3 separate regions of the Homo sapiens genome follow, and regions 1 and 3 are each linked to region 2. Evidence: promoter capture Hi-C in 16 types of primary human blood cells and fetal thymus (Javierre and others, 2016). All regions are on one chromosome and are shown on one strand. The core of a region is centred on a gene start or on the middle of the fragment in contact, and the rest is flanking DNA. Distances in the headings are between cores, read along the strand shown.

Evidence for each region. The method cuts DNA at HindIII sites, captures the fragments that hold promoters and counts their contacts. A CHiCAGO score of 5 or more calls a contact.
Region 1: a fragment that was not itself captured here is called in contact with the fragment with the promoter of SLC39A2 in region 2 in 1 of 17 cell types (monocytes); the score reaches 5.9 in monocytes.
Region 3: a fragment that was not itself captured here is called in contact with the fragment with the promoter of SLC39A2 in region 2 in 1 of 17 cell types (monocytes); the score reaches 5.1 in monocytes.

The regions. Positions count from the first base shown.
Region 1 is chr14:20,356,217-20,360,958 of GRCh38, forward strand. It overlaps PARP2 (poly(ADP-ribose) polymerase 2), which reads left to right. Exons shown (of 16, transcript NM_001042618.2): 12 at 91-218; 13 at 374-473; 14 at 835-933; 15 at 1,180-1,304; 16 at 1,422-1,688. The coding sequence ends at 1,581. Among named protein-coding and RNA genes, the nearest start is that of PARP2, 15 kb to the left of the region's middle. The HindIII fragment of the contact is 3,285 bases long and covers 1-3,240 here.
Region 2 is chr14:20,996,828-21,001,257 of GRCh38, forward strand. SLC39A2 (solute carrier family 39 member 2) reads left to right here and starts at 2,466. Exons shown (of 4, transcript NM_014579.4): 1 at 2,466-2,734; 2 at 2,915-3,045; 3 at 3,289-3,339; 4 at 4,120-4,430. The coding sequence starts at 2,620. It overlaps LOC101929718 (a long non-coding RNA gene), which reads right to left and starts at 2,336. Exons shown (of 4, transcript NR_110139.1): 1 at 1,947-2,336; 2 at 853-987; 3 at 5-383. It overlaps METTL17 (methyltransferase like 17), which reads left to right. Exons shown (of 14, transcript NM_022734.3): 14 at 1-208. The coding sequence ends at 63. RefSeq lists enhancers at 1-501, 2,525-3,724. The HindIII fragment of the contact is 5,548 bases long and covers 1,250-4,430 here.
Region 3 is chr14:20,472,632-20,476,066 of GRCh38, forward strand. PNP (purine nucleoside phosphorylase) reads left to right here. Exons shown (of 6, transcript NM_000270.4): 3 at 1,841-1,944; 4 at 2,142-2,317; 5 at 2,431-2,621. Among named protein-coding and RNA genes, the nearest start is that of PNP, 4.9 kb to the left of the region's middle. The HindIII fragment of the contact is 2,199 bases long and covers 446-2,644 here.

The DNA.
Region 1 (4,742 bases), core at 348-2,847, 640 kb before region 2:
CTGCCAAGTTATATCAGAATCCCCAAATTCTTCAGTTCAGCTCAGTCTCTTGTAGAGTCTACATCAGCCTTTTTGTCTTATTTTTCACAGGTGATTTCCCAGTACCTACAATCTACCCATGCTCCCACACACAGCGACTATACCATGACCTTGCTGGATTTGTTTGAAGTGGAGAAGGATGGTGAGAAAGAAGCCTTCAGAGAGGACCTTCATAACAGGTCTGAGTCTAGCTTTGCGTTTGGAAAGACACTCCTTGCCCGAAAGTACAGCTGTAGAACTTATAAGAGGGAGTCAGAGGAAGGTGTTGGCTTTTTTATGCTTATGGCCTATCTGTGCAGAACAACAGAGTACAATAATATTGGCTTTTCCTTAGGATGCTTCTATGGCATGGTTCCAGGATGAGTAACTGGGTGGGAATCTTGAGCCATGGGCTTCGAATTGCCCCACCTGAAGCTCCCATCACAGGTTACATGGTGAGTGAAATTGAACTCTGGGAGGAGCACAGGGGAAAGGGATACAGTAATGTTCTCAGTGCTTTTTTTCCTAGATTAGGATTAGATGGTTCCCCTCCCCAAGAGTTAAGCCAGCTCACTGATAACCTTGTCATCTCTTACTGTGTCCCTCTTTCTTTAAATTCCTAAAGATACCTCACCTTTCCCTCAGAAGGCGGAAATTCACAGGGGCTTCTACCCTCTCTAGAACAGAATTGTGAGGGGAAATGGAGAAGGGTCTATATTGTGTTTAAGGGAATGGAAAAACAGGGTCAGTGGTATGCACCTTCTCTCTAACACAGTGGGTTAGAAGCTGACCTTGGTATTCATGTATATATTTCAGTTTGGGAAAGGAATCTACTTTGCTGACATGTCTTCCAAGAGTGCCAATTACTGCTTTGCCTCTCGCCTAAAGAATACAGGACTGCTGCTCTTATCAGAGGTGAGACAGGAGTATGTCTGTGATCTCTAGTTTATTAATTCCAGTTTTTTTCCGATGAGAAAAGTTTGACCCCAGAACCAAGAGGTTTACCTGGGATAGCTTGAGAGAGGACCAAGTACAATTTCTAGTACATTGGATTCCTCTGCTGGAGTAGGGGAAAAAAGTACTGATGGGATTTTCTGTTTGGCTTTGGAGCCATCTAATTCTTAGTAGGATATGGGAATTCAAAGGTTTTTTGCTTTGCAGGTAGCTCTAGGTCAGTGTAATGAACTACTAGAGGCCAATCCTAAGGCCGAAGGATTGCTTCAAGGTAAACATAGCACCAAGGGGCTGGGCAAGATGGCTCCCAGTTCTGCCCACTTCGTCACCCTGTAAGTACTCAGAACCAGGAGGACTAGAAGACTCCTTTTGGCCAGATAAGACTACGTTCTCTATTGCAGCTTCTGAACCAGAGACTGATGTTGACACACTTTTTTTCCATTTGGCAGGAATGGGAGTACAGTGCCATTAGGACCAGCAAGTGACACAGGAATTCTGAATCCAGATGGTTATACCCTCAACTACAATGAATATATTGTATATAACCCCAACCAGGTCCGTATGCGGTACCTTTTAAAGGTTCAGTTTAATTTCCTTCAGCTGTGGTGAATGTTGATATTAAATAAACCAGAGATCTGATCTTCAAGCAAGAAAATAAGCAGTGTTGTACTTGTGAATTTTGTGATATTTTATGTAATAAAAACTGTACAGGTCTACCACTGGCTTCTTCGGGCTTTATTTCTCCAAGAACATATTTCTTCTGACATTAGTAGATCTCCATTTCCAGGACAGAAATTACTCATTGCTCTGAGGGTTATTCAGTATCCTGTTCTTAGTGGCATCTGTGCATTGAGGGACACTAATGGGGGCGCTAATGCTTTTACCTGTTTAATTCAATTTTTCTGCAAACTGGAATTTGTTGAGTATTATCACAGGAAGGGTAGAGGCAACAAAGGCTAAGTCGTGTTTTTCTTTCCCATGCATATGTATTCACTTGCCTTTTTCAAATTTATCCACTGCAGCCTAGGTCTCCCACTACTCAACATCCTAGGACTCATCACATGTCCAAAAATTTGGGAAGCCCTTGGAGGACTGTCACTAAGCCTGAATACATCTTGAGGAGGAAAGGAAAAAAGTGGAATGAGTTTTTACATAACCTGCTCCAACTAAGAAGTACTAAAGTCCAGGTCAGATCCTGATATGGTTAGGCTTTGTGTCCCCATCCAAATCTCATCTTGAACTGTAATCCCCAGAATCCCCACATTTTAAGGGAGAGACCAGGTGGAGGTAACTGAATCATGGGGGCAGTTTCCCCCATGCTGTTCTTGTGATAGTGAGTGAGTTCTCACGAGATCTGATGGTTTTATAAGGGGCTCTTCCTACTTCGCTTGGCACTTCTCCTTCCTGCCACCCTGTGAAGAAGGGCTTCCCCTTCACCTTCCTCTATGATTGTAAATTTCCTGAGGCCTCCTCAGCCATGGTGAACTGTGAGTCAAACCTCTTTCCTTTATAAATTACCCAGTCTCGGGCAGTTCCTTATAGCAGTATGAAAACAGACTAATACAGATCCAAAGACTTCCTGATTGTATTTAAACACACAACACAGATAAACAACACACTTCCTTAAGTAACAGAGAAGTTTGTTTAAATTTTTCCTGTAACTTTTTAGAAACCAGGTTTCCAATATCTATCAAAATTTGAAATGTTCATGCCCTGTTGACCTAAAACTTACAGATATATATGTTTGCATAGATGTCACTGAGGCATTGGTGTACACAAAAAGATCATAGATAAGGAACTAGTCAAATATATCTACTCACTGAAGTAACCTGCTATTAAAACTGAAGTAGACTGCATACTTTTCCAAAGAATAGAAGAGAGGAAAATACTTTGCAACTAATTCTACAAAGCAGAATGAAACCAAAACCAGATGAAGATATCACAAGAAAATAAAATTATAGACCAATATCCCTTAACAATATAATTGCAAAAATCAACAAAATACTACCAAGCCTAATCCAGCAACATTATAAATGGACTATATACAATGATCAAGTGAGATTTATCACAGTAATGCAAGATTGAAAACCAAGGTAGGGCAAAAATCACATGATCATCTCAGATGCAGAAAAAGCATTTGGCAAAATGTAACATTTTTTCATAATGAAATAAAATCCAACAAAGTAGGAATGAAAGGGAGCTTCCTCCACCCTATGAAGAACATCTATGAAAAACTCACAGCTAACATTACAATGGTGAAAGATTGAAAGCTTATCCTCTAAGATCAGGAATAAGACCAAGATGTTTGCACTCACCACTTCCATTCAATATTGTACTGGAGGTTCTAACCATGGTACTTAAGCAAGAAAAAAAAGGCATCAAGATTAAAAAGGAGATAAAACTAAATTTGCAAATTACGTGATCTATAGAGAAGGCCCAAAAGAATCCATATTTAGAGCTAAAAAGTTCAGCAAGATTGTAGGATACAAGATGAATTGTATTTCTTTTTTTTTCTTTTTCTTTTTTTTTTTGAGACGGAGTGTCTTGCTCTGTTGCCCAGACTGGAGTGCAGTGGCGCAATCTTGGTTCACTGCAACCTCCACCTCCCGGGCTCAAGTGATTCTCCTGCCTCAGCCTCCCGAGGAGCTGGGGCTACAGGTGCCCACCACCACGCCTGCCTAATTTTTGTATTCTTAGTAAAGACAGGGTTTCACCATATTAGCCAGGCTGGTCTCGAACTCCTTACCTTGTGATCCTCCCACCTCAGCCTCCCAAAGTGCTGGGATTACAGGCATGAGCCACTACACCCAGCCTGTATTTCTTTTTATTTTATTTATTTTTCTGGAGATGGCATTTTACTCTTGTTGCCCAGGCTGGAGTGCAATGGTGAGATCTCAGCTCACTGCAACCTCTGCCTCCGGGTTCAAGTGATTCTCCTGCTTCAGCCTCCCGCCTCGGCTTCCCAACTAGCTGGGATTACAGGCATGTGCCACCATGCCTGGCTAATTTTTGTATTATTAGTAGAGACAGGGTTTCACCATGTTGGGCCCAGGCTGGTCTTGAACTCCTGACCTTAGGTGATCCACCCACCTTGGCCTCCCAAAGTGCTGGCATTACAGGTGTGAGCCACCACGCCTGGCCTATGAATTGTATTTCTATTTCTACACACTAGTAAAGAATAATCTGAAAAATTAAGAAAACAATTCCATTTATAATAGCGTCAGAAAGAATAAAACACTAGGAATAGATTTAACCAAAGAAGCATGAAACTTGTACACTGATAACTACAAAACTATTGAAAAACATTCAAGGCCACCTTTATTTATTTATTTATTTATTTATCTGAGACAGAGTCTTGTTCTGTTGCCCAGGCTGGAGTGCAGTGGCACAATCTTCCCTTAATGCAACCTCTGCCTCCCGGGTTCAAGTGATTTTCCGGCCTCAGCCTCCCAAGTAGCTGGGATTACAGGTGTGCACCGCCACACCCAGCTAATTTTTGTATTTTTAGTAGAGATGGGGTTTCACCATGTTGGCAGGCTGGTCTTGAACTCCTGACCTCAAGGCCCACCTCAGTCTCCCAAAGTGCTGGGATTACACACTTGAGCCACCATACCCAGCTAAGACCTATTTATTTAGGTCTTGAATTTCTGTCAACAGTTCTGTAGTTTTCAATCTACAAGTGTTCGTAGATTGGAAAATTTATTATTAAAATGGTAATACTTCCCAGAGCAACCTATAGATTCCATACAATTCCTATTAAAATTCCATTA
Region 2 (4,430 bases), core at 1,216-3,715:
TTACCTGTGCTTACTCCGTCTGCGTTTCCTCCATCTACGGCTCAGGATCCCTCTGAGAGTTGATGAGGATGTGTAACAAGTATTTTCTTCTATCGTGCCTGCCAGGGCTGAAGCTGCCTGGTATCCAGGAGGGGAATGCTGGTATCCCCATATGTCTGTGTTTGTTTGAGATTTTTAATAATAAATAATAAATTTTTGAAGAATGGAAGTGGATTTTGTGATTCTTAAAAAGTGTAGAAGCTGGGCACGGTGGCATGTGTCTGCATTTCCAGCCACTCAGGAAGCTGAGGCAAGAGGATCACTTGAGCCCAGGTGTTAAGGCTACAGTGAACTTTGATTGTAACACTGCACTTCAGCATAGGTAACAGAGCAAGACGTCCTCCCTTAAAAAAAAAAAAAAAAAAAAAACATGTAAAAGGTATAGTTAATTATCCTGGCCTATCCTGTAATGAAGAGCTTCCTCAGATTTTTGGTGCCAGGCTTCCCACACAAATCTCAAGCTCGCCCTCTCCTATTGTGGCAGTTCAGAGCTCCATAAGCTCTTCGCTGTAATGATGAATGTGTAAGCTGATCATTAAAGCAGAAGTAGAAAAACCAGATTTCCATAAGCCCTTTGCTATAATGATGAATGTACAAGTTAAACATTAAAGCAGAAGCAAGAAAAATGGATAAGGAATCGGGGGAAACTGGTGCCTGAGTACGAAAGCCAGAATACAAAAAAAGCAAGCCCTTTAAAGCCCCACCTATACTTTCTCTACCTCAGATCTAGCTGAGTGATAAAAGCATTCCTGCACATACAACCCATCCCAGGACCAACTTAAGATTAAGAAACTTCTGTCTGCAAGTACTCACTCACTATGGTGGGATCAGCTGCAAAGCGAACTGTCCCATGCTCATGTTGATGGTTTTCTAGATACTGCCAACATGTTAGCTCTTTCTGGTGCCGATGAATTTCAAACGCGAACAGACACCCTTGATGTGGGTTTGCTAAGAAAATAGAAGAACAGGAAGAAAAGTTGCCAGGTTCAGACATCCCAGGGAAAAAGAAGCGTAAACAGCATTAGCAATCAGTGACTGATGATAATGCTGCAATAATGGGAATGGTTTTATTTCTAAATCAAATCGTTTATTGCTTTGTTTCTAAAAAACAAAAAAAAAACTTCTACCTGCAGACCCCTAGTTTAGATTAATTAGGAAACATTCCCGCAGGTAGTCATAGAGCTTGAATTGTATATAAAAGCTAAAGAAAAGCTTGTAACTTTGAGTTGGTCTGGTGTGCTACTCCGACCTCCCTGTAATCAGTTGCAGAAATAAACTCCCGTCTTTCCCAGTCTGTCTGTCTGCATCTCATTACCGGACCACAAGAACAAGCAGCAGGACCAGTAACACTGTAAGAATCATCCAGTAACACTGTAAGAATACTGCTTCTACCAGAGGCCAGGACTTCCCTAGGAAAATAATCTGGAGTAGCAAGGAAAGCTGCCTCCAGAGCTCTGAGAACTGGCTCAACAGGTCTCAGGGTTGTTATGTGGGCCACCTGAATAGGGGAATCAGCAGCTGCCTGGCCTCTTGTACTAACGCCTTCCCTTCTGTCTTTCCCAGGGTCCCTCAGCTACCCTAGAGTATGTATGGGAAATGCCCCAGACATTTCCATCAAGAGTGATTCCCATCAGAACTGAATCTTCTACCCCCACCTCTCTATATCCAGGTAGAATCCTCCCATTCACTCAGTTCATTTCTGTTTTCCCCTAAGCCTTGCTGTTTCAGGGCTAGAGCAGCTTCCTTTGTCTTAAACCTTAAATGTCTTTTTTTCCACAGTTCTTACCAGGAAACAGGCACAGTTAGAAGTTGTAACAGTATAAATGTTGTAATACCAGACATCTCAACTCATTCCTCTCAAAACTGATCCCAATCAAAAGAGAAAGAAAAAAAACAAATCAACTTACCACTAGACATTTCCATGCCTGGAGCTATTTTTCTGGGGTTACAGGAAAGGGTAGTTCCCTCATGTGGGTACTAGTTCCCACAGAGTAGCACCAGCACCACCTCTCAGCCCCACCTCTTTACCTCCAGGTGGCCCCAAATCTCTGAAAGCGGGTGGTTCAAGTATCAGCATTGCAACCTATAAGACTTGGGATGAGGTGGAGAGGGTATGGAAGGCTTAGATCAAACGTCCTGAGTGAGACAGGACCAGATTGTCCCCAGTACAAAATAGCTGGGAAGCAGCTACCATAGACTTTCCTATTTTGGATTAGACCAACCCCAAGCACATGAACTAAGACTATCCGTAGCTCTTGGATTAGTCATGCCATTGAAGAGGAGGAGAAGACGCCACTGGGCTGTGCCTGGCAGGGAGTCTGGAGTTTCTGGTTTCCAAGCTCAGGAAGGCGTGAACCAGGGGAGGGGCCTCCATGCAGGGGGAGGGCTAGAAGCTGGGGCAGGATCTGTCAGCTCTGCAATGCTGCAGAAGCAGAAGCAACACAGAAAGAAGATACCAACAGCCTCCTGAAACTCACGAGAGTGGACACTCCAGTGTTGACCACCTAAGATACCACTCCTGCTCCAAAGATTACAGCTCCCTTGTCATTCTGACTCCTGGGCTTACCCTACACCCCAGAGATGGAGCAACTACTAGGAATAAAACTTGGCTGCCTGTTTGCCCTGTTGGCTCTCACTCTGGGCTGTGGCCTTACTCCCATCTGCTTCAAATGGTTCCAGATTGATGCAGCCAGAGGTATAGCCCTACCCCATCTTTGTTCCATAGCCTGAGTCTCACCTCAACCCTGTCCTGATACCTTGCTCTGATTCTCTCACCATCCCCAACCTTGGGATATTGAGTGCTGCCTGCTGCTCTTTACTCACCTTTGTCTGTCTCCTCAGTGTCAAGTGGGTTGTAACTTCTGCTTTTTATTAGGTCATCACCGGCTAGTCCTCAGACTCCTGGGCTGTATTTCTGCTGGTGTTTTCCTGGGAGCAGGGTTCATGCATATGACTGCTGAAGCCCTGGAGGAAATTGAATCACAGATTCAGAAGTTCATGGTGCAGGTGAGAGCAGAGATTTCAAGCCGCAGGTCTATGAGGCCAAAATGATAAACAGGACAAAGGGAAGAGAGCGGGAAAGTGATGGAGCCAAGGACATGGGTGGAACGACAAGGAAAATGACAGCTCTTGTGTGGGATGGTGAAAGCAAGTCAGATTAGGCTTTAAGGAAAACAGAATTGCTGAAGGGACAGCACAGGAAGCTGTGCTGCTCCATCCCACATCTAATTTCTGCTGCTTTCTTCTTAGAACAGATCAGCAAGTGAGAGAAATTCTTCTGGTGATGCTGATTCAGCTCATGTAAGTACCTCCCACCATCCCCTATCTGGAGAGTGAGGAGAACCAGAGAGGCCTTTCATATCCAGACCCTTTTGAGAGGAATACATGAGGAGTACCAAGAATCCCTTCTGCTCCCTAGCTCAGACATCGTAGAGGAAAAGAGGAGCAAATCCAATCCTTTTGAGTTTATAGAATGCCAGGGAAAGCCCTTGTTTTACTCTTTCATTCTTTCCCTGGATCCTCTGATATACCTCACATCATTTGCCCATGTTTTTAACTCTATTGAGATTCTGTCCCTTAGCCCCTCTGGCAGTCTTTTGTTGTTGTTGTTTTTCGTTTGTTTGTTGAGATGAAATCTCTCTGTCGCCCAGACTGGAGTACAGTGGCACAATCTCGGCTCACTGCAACCTCTGCCTTCCGAGTTCTAGTGATTTTCCTGCCTCAGCCTCCTGAGTAGCTGGGATTACAGGCACGTGCCACCACACCTGGCTAGTTTTTGTATTTTTAGTAGAGACGGGGTTTCATCATGTTGGCCAGGCTGGTCTCAATCTCCTGACCTCAAGTGATCTGCCCACTTCAGTCTCCCAAAGTGCTAGGATTACAGGCATGAGCCACTGTGTCCGGCCCACTCTGGCATTCTTGTTGTTGCATGGCCATGTCTACTCTTGGCTTCATTTCCCCTACCCTTTTTTGTGTTCTGTTACCACATTTTCTCATTCTCTTCAATCTCCCAATTCCATGTCCATCCAATGTATTGCCTACCCTTCCTTTCCATCTCACAGCCCTTCTTTTTGTTTCTAGATGGAGTATCCCTATGGAGAGCTCATCATCTCCCTGGGCTTCTTTTTTGTCTTCTTTTTGGAGTCGCTGGCATTGCAGTGCTGTCCTGGGGCTGCTGGAGGATCGACAGTGCAGGACGAAGAATGGGGTGGGGCTCATATCTTCGAACTCCACAGCCATGGACATTTACCCTCACCCTCAAAGGGTCCCCTCCGAGCCCTTGTCCTCTTGCTGTCACTCTCCTTTCACTCAGTGTTTGAAGGGCTAGCTGTGGGGCTGCAGCCGACAGTAGCAGCTACCGTGCAGCTCTGCCTTGCTGTCCTGGCTCATAA
Region 3 (3,435 bases), core at 295-2,794, 530 kb before region 2:
GACTTTAGGAGATGCCTCTAGCAGACATCCCATAAGAGACAGGACATGTGTGTGTCAGTGGACTGAGGCTAAGACTCAGAAGAGGGCCAGGTGACAGGGGCCAAGTAAAGGGCAAGGGTTGTTTATTTGGTTTACGTAATTTCTCAAATAACTAACTTCTGTTGGTTTATTTATTAATTTTTAAGATTTCTATCTTCTTTTCCCTGGAGAGTTAAGAATTTTTTTTTAAGACCTGTCAGCAGGAAAAGACCTTTAATAGCTATTTTTTTAAACTCTTTAACACAAGACTGGAAGAGCAGAGGGAGAAGGTGAGGGAAATATTAACAGAGGGTGTGTGAAGGGCATACTTCTCTAAGGGAGATAGTAGTGACGCTGGCTCCACTGGCCACTCCTACCCCCAGTGAGAAGGGCACTGCATTAAATGATAAGTGGGTTAGTTTTTTTAAGCTTATCAACATGTTTATTTTTTATACTCCACTTGGGTTTCCTTTGTCAACTTTATTACTGTTTTTGTTTTGTTTTTTTGCATAAGCTCCTCTATCTTTGAGAATTTCTCAGCTCTTCCTCTTGGTTCTAGTCCCTCTCCCATTCCCTAAGGGATAGGTTGGCCGTCTATTAGAAGTGACTGCCAGATAAAAGAAATGGTAATAATGGCTGTTATGTCTGTGGGGAGTTATCTTTGCACTCCCACGCACCCCTCCGTGGGCATGTGTTCCCATAGGACTGTTCCGTGGGTCATAAGGAAAGAGACACTTGCATGCGTTCAAATTCTTTCCCCCTTGTTCAGTAGCCTCTTCTTTAAGAAGCCAGAGTAAGTATACTATGAGCTTGCTTGCTGGACTGAGGAGGCAGGTAATTAAGTTAGGGCAATAGATAAGAATACATGTTTTGAGAACTTTGAAAAATTTGAAGAGGTCTATAATTACTGCATTCACTGTACTCACTTTATTTTGAAACAGAGTCTCGCTCTGTCACCCAGGCTCGAGTGTAGTGTTGTGATCTCGGCTCACTGCAACCTCCACCTCCCAAGTTCAAGAGATTCTCCCACCTCAGCCTCCCGAGTAGCTGGGATTACAGGCATGTGCCACCACACCTGGCTAATTTTTGTATTTTTAGTAGAGATGAGGTTTCACCATGTTGGCCAGGGTGGTCTTGAACTCCTGGCCTGTTGATCCGCCTGTCTTGGGCTCCCGAAGTGCTGGGACTACAGGTGTGAGACACCGCACCTGGCCTATTTTTAATTTTAATTTTTATAGATTTACAGGGGTACAATGCAGTTTTGTTATATGGATATACTGCGTGGTGGTGACGTCTGTGCTTTAGTGTAACCATCACCTGAGCAGTGAACATTGTACTTATTAGGTAATTTCTCATCCCTCATCCCCATCCCACTTTCTCACCTTTCCGAGTCCCCAGTGTCTATTATTTCACTCTGTAGGTCCATATGTACACATTTGGTTCCCACTTATAAGTGAGAACATGTAGTATTTAATCTTCCATTTCTGAGTATCTACTTTTTTTGCTCACTTTTTACTCTCTGGCAGTATGGCTTGTATTATCTTGAAATTTCTTTAAAAAGCCCTTCCTTCTTTGTGTGTTCATGCTGAACATGCTGAACGCACCCCATATCTCTAATCTTGGGTTGTATTTGTATAATTATTAGTAATGCCTGGCTCTCTCACCAGACTTAAACTTTCTGAAAGCAGAGATAATAATGAGTCTTTTACTTAATTACAACCTAACATTTTGAGCAGAGCGAGTAACTCACAGTAGGTGCTTAATGGATATGTGTTGCATGAAAATATAATCCCATTCATTTCTCTTTCTGTTTTGTATACAGTGCCAGGTCATGCTGGCCGACTGGTGTTTGGGTTCCTGAATGGCAGGGCCTGTGTGATGATGCAGGGCAGGTTCCACATGTATGAAGGGTACCCACTCTGGAAGGTAAGTCAGAGGGATAGGTCCGGTTGGATCTGGAAGAGGCAGGAGAGAACTATCTAGCCTCTTTCACTACCTAGCTATCTGGGCTAGGTGGATTTTTGGTCCTCTCCTTCCTTTTCTTTCACGATGTATGTCATGCATTTCAGTGTAGCTGAATTAATGAAATTTTGTAAATTTTTTTCGGATTGTTTGCTTCGAAGGTGACATTCCCAGTGAGGGTTTTCCACCTTCTGGGTGTGGACACCCTGGTAGTCACCAATGCAGCAGGAGGGCTGAACCCCAAGTTTGAGGTTGGAGATATCATGCTGATCCGTGACCATATCAACCTACCTGGTTTCAGTGGTCAGAACCCTCTCAGAGGGCCCAATGATGAAAGGTATGTATGTTACTCCGTTTTTTTTAGGTGGGTAGGATTTAAAGACTTCTCTAGGAGCTGTGGGAGAATTTTTAAAATTCCGTTTATGTGAGATAATTCAACCTGTGTCCTAGGTTTGGAGATCGTTTCCCTGCCATGTCTGATGCCTACGACCGGACTATGAGGCAGAGGGCTCTCAGTACCTGGAAACAAATGGGGGAGCAACGTGAGCTACAGGAAGGCACCTATGTGATGGTGGCAGGCCCCAGCTTTGAGACTGTGGCAGAATGTCGTGTGCTGCAGAAGCTGGGAGCAGACGCTGTTGGTGAGAAGGGGAATTTGGCTGGAAGCTTGAAGAGGGAGGGGTTTAGCAAAATGGGAAGGGGAAGGAGTAGGAAATAACAGGCCTCATTGGACTGAGAGGATCTGATTTCAGGGAAGGGTGAATTAAACTGACTTATTGAAATACAAACTGGTGAGATTTGGTGTAGCATCAAATCTCCCTACGAAGCACCAAGGGGTTAACAGCTGCAGTGCTAATGAATGATCTATCCATGATTTGATGACTGTTTTTTGAGACGGAATGTCGCTGTGTTGCCCAGGCTGGAGTGCAGTGGCATGATCTCGGCTCACTGCAACCTCCGCCTCCCGGGTTCAAGCAATTCTCATGCCTCAGCCTTCCGAGTAGCTGGGATTACAGACGTGTGCCACCACGCCCGGTTAATTTTTGTATTTTTAGTAGAGACAAGGTTTCACCATGTTGGCCAGGCTGGTCCTTGAACTCGCGACCTCAGGTAATCCGCCCATCTTGGCCTCCTAAAGTGCTGGCATTACAGGCGCGACGCACTGTGCCTGGCCAATGTGATGACTGTTTCTAAGAATTCTAAAAAATTCACTATAGCCACCTTCTGTACCTCTAGCTGGAAGATGGAACTCTATCATTAGGATTGAGTTCAAAATTGCCACAAATATAGAAATGAAGGATTGTATTGGTAATTTTAAGAAATGTGTATTTATTTTAGGCAATACAGAAGATAATTTAGCTGCTTCTTTGGATTTGTTTTAGGTGGGGCCTTGCTCTGTTGCCAAGGTTGGAGTGCAGTGGCACCATCTCTAGCTCACTACAGTTCTGACTGCCT